2 separate regions of the Homo sapiens genome follow, and region 1 is linked to region 2. Evidence: promoter capture Hi-C in human tissues and cell types (Jung and others, 2019). All regions are on one chromosome and are shown on one strand. Each heading gives the region's core, a stretch centred on a gene start or on the middle of the fragment in contact. The rest is flanking DNA. Distances are from core to core; before and after follow the strand shown. Region 1 overlaps MYHAS (myosin heavy chain gene cluster antisense RNA). Region 2 holds the start of MYH8 (myosin heavy chain 8).

Region 1 (6,363 bases), core at 1,719-4,218, 160 kb after region 2:
GCAACATAGTGAGACCCCGTCTTTACAAAATAAAAAATTTTAGCCCCAGGCATGGTGCACATGCCTGTGGTCCCAGTTACTTGGGAGGCTGAGGCAGGAGGATCACTTGAGCCTAAGAAGTTGAGGTTGCAGTGAGCTATGATTGCACCAGTGCACTCCAGACTGGGTAACAGAGCAAGACCCTGTCTCAAAAAATAAAAATAAAAATCCCTTCACAACAATGTCTAGACTGGTGCTTGACCCAAAACTGGGTACTGGGGCCTGGCCAAGTTGACCCATAAAATTAACCATCCCATCTAAGAAGTCATTACTTTACGTCTAATTGTGTCAATGTATATCATTGTCAGATCTTCCTTCAATATTGTCAAAATTCTTAATACATTGGTTTTATTTGCTTGGAAAAGTTTCGGTGATAATTGCTGAAGGACCAGGCTATTTTATAGAAAAGTTCTTTTTCTCTTGAGGCTATTGGATGTGAATAATCCTGAAGTCTTCTTCTGTAGCAAGTCATTCAAGAAATGGATTGACCTTTAAAAGAAATTTCACAGTAATTTTCCTCTGGCTTATTTTTGGCAATCAAAATAAATAGAATCACAGACTGGGGACTGGGCATGGTGGCTAACACCTGTAATCCTAGCGCTTTGGCAAGCCAGGGCAGGAGGATCACTGGAGGCCAAGAATTTGAGACCAACCTGGGCAACAAAGCAAGACCCTATTTCTACAAAAAAAAAAAAAAAAAAAAAAGAGTCAGACATGATGGCTCATGTCTGAAGTCCTAGCTACTCGGGAGGCTGAGGCAGGAGTACTGCTTGAGCCTAGCAGTTCAAGGCTGCATTGAGCCATGATTACACCACTGCACTCCAGACTGGTTGATAGAGCAAGACCTTGTCTCAAGCAAACAAACAAACAAAAAAAACAAAAACAAACAAAAAAAACTAAAGACTAGAGGGATGTTGATTCCTCTTTGAAATCTTAGGTTTATGCTTAGATGAGACACTGCAGTAGCCTGAAGCTTCATATTAGTCTATTGGCATGTGCTTTGACAAAAAGCAAACAAAACATGTAGGTAACAAAGATGAAAGATAAAATAGACCAACATCAAGAAAAATGGCATTCTGAGTTTTGATCTCAGAGAACTAGTCCCCTCTCTATGTTCCAGGAATGACAGAAAATGACATATTTCAAATACAAGTTAATTCTTTTCTTTTAGCTAAATTGTTCACGATTGAATGGTGCTTTTATACGTCAAGAAAATGATCCCTTCTCTTCCTGATCTTCTATTAAAAACAATGAGACAATTAATTTTTCCTACTGATGAATCTGATAATATGCACTGTTAAATGTGTGGAACGCAAATTTAGAGTTTCTTATACAGATCAGATACTCAGAGGGAGTATAATTCACCAAGGATTCCCCTTTGGAAAATGATGTTTAAAAGCTCAGAGAGCACTAATTAGATTAAGTACGATGATCATGAGAGAAATGTTAGATTAGAACCAAAAAGTTTTTGAAAGGGTAGAGCAATTCGGAGGAGCTAAGAGAAGATTAATGCATAAGAATTGAGTGACTGTGCTAATGACAAAAAGAACCTAAAGGGACACATTTCAAATCAGTCAATGGTAAATGGTGGAGAGGTGTGAGAGGAAAAGGGGTCAGGGCCCCTTTGACAAATATTCTCTTAGGTATTTTCTCTTAATAGAGGGTCCTTGTGGAGGAAGAGTGATCTAAAAGTTTGCATGGGTAAAGGAATACCTGTTGAATTCAGTAAGACCTTAAATGCCCAGGGGAACTCTCTGGCCTTGGCTTAGTAAGCAATAGAAGTCACTGAAGGTCTTGAGGAAAAAGGAGGGAGAAGAACGCCGTAGGTTAGAGAAGCAAATCTGGAAGTATAGTGTAGACTGTGGGAGAAGAGTTCACGCTGGCGATTAGAGGCATGTGTGAGTTTCGATTGAATGTGTGGGCAGGGCTTACAGATATGAGATGACTCTGAGATATTCTTTTTTTTTCTTTTTTTTTTTTGAGACGGAGTCTCACTGTGTCGTCCAGGCTGGAATGTAGTGGCGTGATCTTGGCTCACTGCAAGCTCTGCCTCCCAGGTTCACGCCATTCTCCTGCCTCAGCCTCCTGAGTAGCTGGGACTACAGGCGCCTGCCACCACGCCCAGCTAATTTTTTGTATTTTTAGTAGAGACGGGGTTTCACTGTGTTTGCCAGGATGGTCTCGATCTCCTGACCTTGTGATCCATCCACCTAGGCCTCCCAAAGTGCTGGGATTACAGGCTTGAGCCACCGTGCCTAGCCAACTCTGAGATATTCTAAAGGAGTGGGGGGCTTACAGAGAGGAATCATGGACAGGCTAGATGGTATCTTTGAAGTTATCTGATCCAATATACTACCCAATACGATATGTCTACATTTAACAGTCCATAGCTTACATTAGAGTTCACTCTGTGTTGGTCATTCTATGGATTTTGACTAATGTCATACATCCACCATTACAGTATCACATAGATATCAATTTCTTTTTCAGAGACAGTGTAGACTAATGCTGTATCAATGAAGGAATTTTCTTTGACTACCAGATATCTGTTTCTGTAATGTTATCAGTGGATTCCCACTGTTCTGCCAGAAGTTTTGAATGTTCTTCCTGCTTTGCAGGCAGTTTCTCCCTAAAGAACTACTGAATATTATGTCATACTCCCAACAGGGTAATATATGTGATGTGCACTGTAAAACTTTCCAAAAGTTATTAAAATACTGAGTTCCAAATGCACCTGGCCCCAAAGGTTGTGGATTTGGAGTTGTGGATCTATACTCCCTAGTATCCCCAGCAGGATCTGGGAGAGGACCTCAGAATCAAACAACTTCATATTTCTGCAGTGAAAGAATCTCTGCACATAAATACTCACACTAAGTGGGATAAAGAGAGATAAATATCTCTACACCACTTTCAGTCAAGTTTTGTTGTGAAAGGGAAAACTTATTTTCTTAAAAAAAAAAGATTTTGTCTTTTCAAAGCATTTTGGATTTCAGAATTGTAGATAAGGGATGGTGGACCTAGACAACACATGACAAAGTGATATAAATGCCACTGTAAAAAAGACTATGGCACTCCAGCCTGGGCAACAGAGTGGGACCCTGTCTCAAAAAAAAAACAAAAAAAAAAACAAAAACGGCCGGGCTCAGTGGCTCACGCCAGTAATCCCAACACTTTGGGAGGCCAAGGCAGGCGGATCACATGAGGTCAGGAGACCAGCCTGACCAACATGATGGAACCCCATCTCTACTAAAAATACAAAAATCAGCTTGGTGTGGTGGTGTGCGCCTGTAATCCCAGCTACTCAGGAGGCTGAGGCAGGAGAATCACTTGAACCTGGGAGGCGGAGGTTGCAGTGAGCTGAAATTGCACCACTACACTCCAGCCTGGGTGACAGAGTGAAACTCCATCTCAGAAAAAAAAAAAAAAGAAAAGAAAAAAAATAAAAGGCTATGGGCCCATAGAGAGGCAATTGGTTCGTATCTTTACCCCTTAGCTAAGCTGATTTTAGATAGGTCAAGAGGAAGTGATAAGGGAATGGAGCCAGTGGCATGGACTATTTGTATGAGAAATTTATGGTGGGGCGCGGTGGCTCACTCCTGTAATCCCAGGACTTTGGGAGGCCGAGGTGGGCGGATCACCTGAGGTCAGGAGTTCAAGACCAGCCTGACCAACATGGAGAAACCCCGTCTCTACTAAAAATACAAAATTAGCTGGGTGTGGTGGCACATGCCTGTAATCCCAGCTACTCGGGAGGCTGAGGCAGGAGAATCGCTTGAACCCAGGAGGCAGAGATTTCAGTGAGCAGAGATCGTACCATTGCACTCCAGCCTGGGCAACAAGAGTGAAACTCAGTCTAAAAAAATAAAAGAAAATAAACGTATTAAAATGTTTCAATTGCTATGTTTTTGTTAAAAGCACCAGGAATTCCAACTCAAAGAAGCTAAAACATTAAATGTGTCAGCTAATGTATCTGGAAGGATCAGAGAGAAGACTAGCATAAGGCAAGGCTTGATCTGGAAGCTCAGTGATACTATCAAGAGCTCAGATCCTTTTGGCCTCTCAGCTCTGCCCTGTAACTTATACTTTTAGGTGTACATGAGCAGGGAAAACAAAACTGAAGACCGTAGCTTAGGCCATATGCCCCATCCATCCCTGGAGGTAACAAGAGGAAAGTCACCTTCCTTGGGACTGTATAGATGCCCAAACAGAAATCTGAGGGTATTGAGAAGGGGGAAGAGGGATTGGCTGGTGCAGAGGGAAGCATTTGACAAAGACAAGGGGAGAAGCCATTGAAAGGAGGTAAGCTTTTAATGTTTGTTTTAGATAGAGAGTATATGTGTGTGTTTGAGGGCAGAAAAGTGGGGATGGGGTGAGTTGAAGTCTAGAACTCATTAGAGACGTCCTGGAGGAGGAGGGGAAGAGAAAGGATTTAGACAGAGAGAGACAGTGGGTGTGTGGCTTGGTAACTAGATTGTGGCAACTGGCTCTGGTATCCTGAACTTGAACTGCCTGATAGATGAACGGGCACACCTGGTTACTCAAGGCAGTGTCTCTTGGGGATTGCTGTGGTTACAGAGCAGTTTTTTCTGTGAGGTCAAGCCACAGCTATAGCCTCAAGCTACTTGAGAGCTAAACCTATCTGTTTAATTATTGCTAAAAGGATTTTATTGTTCACTATGCACAGGCATATAAAAATGCACTTTGAGGTTATAAGATTGGGTCCCTGAACTGACCCTTTTTTGGTTTCAAGCAGCAACCATTACAGAATTTTAACCAGATAAACTGTTAGTAAAACATATCCACAGTGATTGCCACTTCTCTGCTATCTTTATATGAAGATAGCATTTTTTAGAAGAAAAACTCTTTATTGAGTATGATATAAAATGCAAACAACTAAACATCATAAGATGACAATTTGATGAATTTTCACCAACTGAAAACAACGAGCTAATTAGCATCCACGTTGAAAACCAGCACATCGCTGCCACTCCAGTAGCTTTCTTCTACATGTTATTCTGACCATGTTTATGCTTAATCCAGTTTAGGGATAAGGCTACCAAAAGCATGTAGTCTGCCTTTGAAATAATATCATGGCAATTTTAGAGTCAACTGTTAACTTGGTTATGTCAGTATTTCACTGCTGGAAGACTGATTTCAGAAATACTTTGCTCCCAAAAAACACATCTTTAAGCAAAAATCTGAATTGCCCATAACAATAATTTTCTCCTTTTGGTACATCAGCAGAATCTGTCAAATGGAAGGGTGAATTGATGAGATGTAGAGGATATGGATCTTTATTAAGCAGCAATGAGTGAGCAAAGAAGCAAAATATTAAATAGCAAAAAACAACAAACAAACAAAACAAAAAAAGAAGTGGAGACTGTACCTTACTATTTAATTCAGGATACTAAATACATACTTTGCAAGTGATGGTTATTTGCTAATAGCTTTTTAAGGTGTTTTACTTTGTAAAGATTATTATAGAAGAAACTGTTCTTCTTACTTCATTTTATACAAATAATAATGTCAGTAGTATTTAGTCAGTGGCCCCTATTTTTTTTTTTTTTTTTTTTTTGAGACAGAGTCTTGCTCTGTCAGCCAGGCTGGAGTGCAGTGGTGCAATCTCGGCTCACTGCAACCTCTGCCTCCTGGGCTCAAGCAATTCCCCTGCCTCAGCCTCCCGAGTAGCTGGGACTACAGGCATGTGCCACCATGCCCGGCTAATTTATTGTATTTTTAGTAGAGACGGGGTCTCACCGTGTTGGCCAGGCTGGTCTCAAACTCCTGACCTCAGGTAATCCACCCACCTCGGCCTCCCAAAGTGCTGGGATTACAGGCGTGAGCCACCGCACCCGACCAACTGGCCCTATATTTTTATAGAACATTTATATATTTGTTTTTGTTATTCTAACTTGTTTCTGTTTTATTAGAATATCAGTGCAGATCTGACATCTATCAATCTACATAAATATATATATATAATTCAATCCAATAAACATATGTATATTTATGTAAATGGATCTTGAGATGGGAGTAGGGCATGTGAATTTGGAAATAGTGTTTTAAAACATCAGTGGGTAGCTATTTTATAGTTACTTGTTTTATAGTTTTTATAGTTACTTGTTTTTCTGAGGTAGGATAGAAGAAGCAGTTGAGGACTGGAATAGGAAGGAAAAGGCTGGGGAGGGAAAGTTGTAGAAAAAAGATAGGAAGCTGAGAGGTCATGGGAGCTGCTTTTGCTGAAGTTGTTCATCAAACCAGGGGCCAGATGGCCAGGCTGAGGTGGAGGGGACCCTCCTCCAATATCCCTGACTCCCTTGCCTG
Region 2 (6,061 bases), core at 3,379-5,878:
GATGTAGATATAGACATAGACTTTAGAAAACTTTAGCCTTCTCTTCAGGGAAGTCGATGCAGATTTTGCATCCTATTCAGATAGATTTGTTTTCTAGTATAAGTAAAACCGTGGAAGATTATATCACATCTAGTGGAAGCACAGATGAGAAAACAATGTTCTGGTCTCTTGGCAATGCTAAAATAACACTCACCAGCTCAAAGGCTAGAGCTCTGTACCATTTTGTACAAAAATCATGTTTGGGAGCCATAAGTAACCTTGAATTTGGAGCAGCCCCAAACCCTGGGGAGCGGGGGGCTTGCTGAGTGGGAGGACAGGGGTGGTGTACATAGCTGTGTAAATGCAGCTGTTGAGTATTAAAACCTCTGAAATGAGCCAGCGTTTGGATAATTTCTGGGAGGTAGTTAGCTTCTGTTGACAATCAAAGAACAGTTTACTGGCATAGAATCCTTGTAGAATTGATGGCCAATTTGTAATGGGAGATTCCTATTTTATTCCTTCCTCTTTATTCTCCCCCTCGAAAAGACAATTTAAAAACAAGTGCAAAAAAACAAACCAAAAAGAAAGAAAAAACACCTTAGTTTCCAAAATTCCATGGAACAACAGGAAACTCAGGAATAGAAAGTATTTCCAAAGGCAGTGCATTTGGTGTGTGAAGATAAAAGGTTTTAATGCTGTATTTGGGCCTATAATGCGTATCAAAGCTGGTTGTTTATGCCTTGATAAGGCAGGAGTAACAGACTTTGATACAATTTAAACATTTTTCTCAGAAAAGATTTTTTCCTTTCATTGTAATAGGAAAGTGCTTCAAATCTTTGGGAGGAAAATCATAGCTTTCTTTACTCATGTTTTACCCTTAAAGGCTGGCAATATTAGCTGTGTCATTCAAAAATAAACATAAGAATTCACAAAGTTTTCCAGCTGTGGCTGATAACTCTTTTCGTTGACTGCTGTGAGCCTGGGTATTTTTAAAAAGTCTGTTTGAACACTTTTTTCTATCCAAATTGGAAAGTAACAAAATATGGAAAACAATAAATATGTTTACAGTGGTCTAGTAATTGTTTCAGCTAGGCTTCCACTTAACTATCTGTGTTAGCTTGGGAAGGACAGTGAATTCAGTGAGCTTCACTTTACTCATCTGTAAAATGGAGGTAGCTGCTGGGAAGAGCATAAGATGTCACAGCTGTGAAAGTTTTTTGAAAACAGTGAAGCCCCATGTGGCTAGAATGTATTATCATAACATAAAGAGGCTCGGAAGAGGTCTGTCTGTTCTGCAAAGATTCTATTTACACATTTCTGTAAATAGATGCCTCACTCACTCACCAGTCAACATGAACTGATAGGCATTGTCAGAGATGGAGAAGATGTGGGGCGGGGCCTCCTGGCGCTTTTTGCCTCTGTAGGCAGCCACCACCTCGGGCTTGTACACCGGCAGCCACTTGTAGGGGTTGACGGTGACACAGAAGAGGCCTGAGTAGGTCTGGGAAGATCAGAACATTTATCATTTGGATCTCGTTTTTACTCAGAGAGAGACATGAAATAAAAAGGTGTTTACAGACACTCACGTAGATCATCCAGGCTGCATAGCGCTCTTTGAGGTTGTACAGCACTCCAGGCTCGTGTAGATGAGTCATCATGGCCATGTCCTCAATTTTGTCATATTTCGGAGGGTTCATAGGGAAGACTTGGTCTTCCCTGACAGTTAGAGTCTGGTGAGTAAGCAAGAAACCAGTTCGTTTTTGTTTGTTTGTTTGAGATAGAGTTTTGCTTTTTTTGCCCAGGCTGGAGTGCAGTGGCGCGATCTCAGCTCACTGCAACCTCCGCCCTCCTGCTTCAAGTGATTGTCCTGCCTCAGCCTTCTGAGTAGCTGGGATTGCAAGTGCCCATCACCATGCCCAGCTAATTTTTGTATTTTTAGTAGAGACAGGATTTCGCCATGTTGGCCAGGCTGGTCTCGAACTCCTGATCTCAGGTGATCCACCTGCCTCAGCCTCCCAAAGTGCTGGGATTACAGGCGTGAGCCACTGCGCCTGGCTAAGACCAGTTCGTTTTAATGGTTGGAGGTAGGGTTTATGTTTGCCTGTATATTTTGGTACAAAACTATAATCACACATACTTCTCATTATATTATTTAATGTCCTCTTAAAAAAGGCATGAAATATATTCATTTCAGAGTTTAATGTTAAGAAAACCTGTTTCCTATGATGAGCTAGGACACTATCTTTTTAAAAGATTTTTTCCTCCCACATTCTCTTATCCCAGATTTATCAGTTTATATCCTTTTTTTCTTATTTTAGTAGGCTAAATTTTTATTTTTTTCTTTCATTCATTAAGAAACTTCATGTTTTTGGAAGTAATGGGGATATTAATACATTATTTAACTAAGTAAATATTTAACTTCTGATAGGAGGAGCTTGTTTTCATTTCCCTCAAGTTTGGACATTCAGACTAGGAAGTGGGGAATTGAAGGGAAATGGTGAAGGCCATACATAGTGGGGTGAGGTCCTGTGCGAAGTTGGGAAGGGAAGACATGAAGGTACTGCTGTGAATTTCTTTTGCCTTCCACATCTAATGTCTCAACACTGACTAGAAGGGTGTTTGCATTGGCAACAGGCTTGGAGATTCCCAGTAAGTTAGGCTTCAACTTTTGAACCAAGAAATAAAATGGGGAGTATTTTCTCCCTGTTTTCACTTACTGCTCCACCTTCAGTCTTTACGGTTACTTTCCCTCCTTCTTTGCTTTGTATAGTGCTCTTCACATAGGATTCCTTGGGCTCCGCCACAAAGACAGATGTTTTAGCATCAAACGGCTTGTTTTGGGCCTCAATCCGCTCCTTTTCTGATTTTCGAAGGTAGGGAGCAGCTTCGCCAAAAACAGCCATCTCAGCGTCTGAGCTCGCACTCATGGCTGCGATTTATTTAGCAAAGGATTCTGCCTAGGGAGGAGAGAAACGGGAGAGAGAGATATAAAAAGCAGAAGTCACAAATGTGAGTTAGGATTTGAAATGAAAGAAATGTTGAACATAGCCTGTGCTGTAACTATTCCTCCAAACTGGCACTCCCCAGTGTTCTAACATAGTCTAAAGGACAAGTATGGAGTGAGACTGTAATTTGAGATTTCATTTTTAGGACTGTGAATTTCCTTTTCAGATCACATATCTTGATCCTCAGGGATAGGGTACCTACAATTGAATTAGAATGAAACCTCTACAGCTAAAACTATTGATGGATTGTTTTATAGCAACTGTCATTATTTAATTTCCTCTCCTCTTTCTGCATAATGTTTGTCTATGCCATATGCCAGGACAATCATATGGTGAGAAAAGAAAGTTTGTCTTGTTCAAATGAAGGTTCATATTTTCAAAGCTATCAAAAAATCTTTGCCTTTTAAGATGGCCATTTTCTCTCATAAAGCAAATAATTATTTTTAACATCTTTATGTTGATATTTGGTGTTGTATCTCTCAGTGGATTGTTAGAAGAACATAATACATTCTAATACTCTGGATTTTTTGTAATTTGGGTTGTTCCCAACAGACTTAGCATTGCCTTGATTCCAAAATCTTTTTTGACATGAGAGATTTCAGCTGTCAGTTAACAGATCTAACCACAGAGGAATGAGAGCTTCAGCACAAAGGCCCTTCTTCCCACATAAATTCCATGGGTTTCTTTTCTTTCCACCCAGAAAACAGAGAAAAAAGTTTTAAGAGTACATCACATGCATGTAAGCCATTGTCTTCTGATTAATAGATAGGCCTCTGCAATGTGGACATGTTAGATTGGTTGAGTTTTTCCTTTATTTTCAATTAGAAAGTTACTTAGGGAAGGGCAGGATTCCTCTTAAATTAGTCATGGTATTTAACACCCGGTGGATGTAATACTTGCGACCTGTTAAGTAAATAATAATAAGTCTTTCTAACAACAAATAACAAATAATCAAAGGTAGCTAAAATATTTATATTTATATTTCTAGGTAAAAATCTTTCTGGAGTCTTTAAAAATGTCTATAAAATGTCCTAAGTCCTCAATGCTTTGCCATAGAAGAAGACTGGCATGGACTAGTCTATTGCCACTGGACAGTTCTAAGCACAGCTGAGAACTCACTGTTGAAGCTAATTCTGTCCTAAACGGTCTTTGAATCTTGGAACCCAAATGAGGATAGTCTCTGAGAAGAAGACATTTTGAAAAAGTTATTTTCTAGCATTTATAAACACTCACTCGGAAACACTCTTTCCTGATATAACTGCAAAAACATGGAAATGGTGTATAATTCAGGATTGTTCACAGCTTCATTAGACTATATCCCCTCTGTCATCAATAAATTAATAAAGCCAAGTCTTACCTCTGGAGTTCCAGATAAAAATGCAGGTTCAGAAGTGTTCCACTCTGTAAAACAACAAGCTTCTTATTAGTGATGCTCCGAAATTCCAATATTATAGTTACAGAATTGTTATTATAGTTACAGAATTGAAGTTTCCCTACCCCAAAGCTTGGTTCTATGAAGACAAAAGTTAAGATTGAGAGAGCAGTTTAATGCTCACAGATAACTACGAGGTCAGCTCTTTTCCCCACCTGGGGTTTTTCGAGTTCCAAGGCCTTCATCACTTACCTCTGGGTTCTTGGTGGAAATAAGGCACAAGGGGCAGTCCTGCTTATATAGGAACTAATGTGCTGATGCTGCAACTACCTCCTCTTTGTTAGGGCAAGACATTTGGCAACATGAACCCTCAGCATAGTTTGTAGTGACATTTGTCATGTTTGGATATAATTAGAAGTATTCATATCATTTTGTGTATGCAAACCAATCTCCTATAAATAATTTGACAGAGACCGATCTGCCAGCAGAGAATGCTTTCTAGTGTGCTGGGAAGGGAATCTTTGACAGTGCCTGATGGGGCCTCAGAGTAAGTTCTTAAGAGCTATATTCAATTTGGCAAACTCTTTCATGCACGCCTGTGGTAGCCAAATGATCAGATACCCGGGGCACACGGCTGTCAGGGCCTTAAGCACGTTTCCTTATTTGCTACCACGGGAACCCCCCACTGCATTCCCTTGGGCCACTACAGATGCTCACTCTTGAAGTCCAGGCTTAGACAGCAGAGATTCTACCTTGAGTCTCCACCATTGGGCCAGTGCCCACTCATCTAACTTTGAAAAACATTATTAGTAGAAAATAATATGTTTATTACAGAAAAAAATACAGGTAAGTAAAAAAAGTCTCTGTAATCTCTAATGCAGAAATAAGATAGAGGCGTATAAGTGGGATCATATTATAGATGCATATATAGTACATGTGTGCCTTGTAATATGCTTTAATAATTAATATATCATATCACTAATGTAATTTATACCCTATTCTTTAAATAAATTATGATTTTTTTTAATTAAACTCTTTCCTTTTTTTAAGGTCAGATATATTGAGGTATAATTTACATAGAGTCAAATTCACCCTTTTAAAGTGACAGTTTTATGAGGTTTTTTGCTTTTATTTTTAAAAATTTTTAAACTTTATAATAAAATTTACTTCTTTTGTTGTATGATTGTATGAGTTTTTATACACGTATTGATTCATGTAGCCACCACCACAGATAGGATGCAGAACAATTCCAGGCCTATGGGTTTGATAAATATATGCAGGTGTGTAACCTCTTACACTGTAATTACATAAAAATTAAAGCCTTAGAGATTAGGCTAAATTTTCCCTTTGATGAACACTCACAATGCTGGTATCTCCCTTTTCTCCCAAGGTAACTACGGATACCCGTTTAGTTTGTAATATTGCAGACCTTTTCTGTACATTTACATATGTATTTTCTGGGAAAATATAAATTAGTAAAACTGGTCTAAGGAAATTGGGCCATAGAAAATTTATAATATATAATATAGATGTTTAAAATATAGATAGTATGATTATTTATTTACAAACTTTCTTTTTTCATTCTACACTCTTGGATCATTTGCCATGTTAGTACATAAATAATAATATGAAAACATTTCAAACATATGCAAAAGTAGAGGGGATAGCATAATGAACCTAGTATATTCATCATCCAGCACTGATA

The links. Contacts are between HindIII fragments. The study calls those that stand out against the background at their distance.
Region 1: a contact is called between a fragment that was not itself captured here and the fragment with the promoter of MYH8 in region 2, in 2 of the 25 tissues and cell types used here (mesenchymal stem cells and mesendoderm cells).

The regions. Positions count from the first base shown.
Region 1 is chr17:10,574,896-10,581,258 of GRCh38, forward strand. All of the region lies in intron 3 of MYHAS (myosin heavy chain gene cluster antisense RNA), which reads left to right. Among named protein-coding and RNA genes, the nearest start is that of MYH2, 28 kb to the left of the region's middle. The HindIII fragment of the contact is 5,942 bases long and covers 1-5,939 here.
Region 2 is chr17:10,417,322-10,423,382 of GRCh38, forward strand. It overlaps MYH8 (myosin heavy chain 8), which reads right to left and starts at 4,629. Exons shown (of 40, transcript NM_002472.3): 1 at 4,609-4,629; 2 at 4,342-4,385; 3 at 2,697-2,936; 4 at 1,566-1,709; 5 at 1,324-1,480. The coding sequence starts at 2,906. The region is part of intron 2 of MYHAS (myosin heavy chain gene cluster antisense RNA); the gene reads left to right. The HindIII fragment of the contact is 11,670 bases long and covers 1-6,061 here.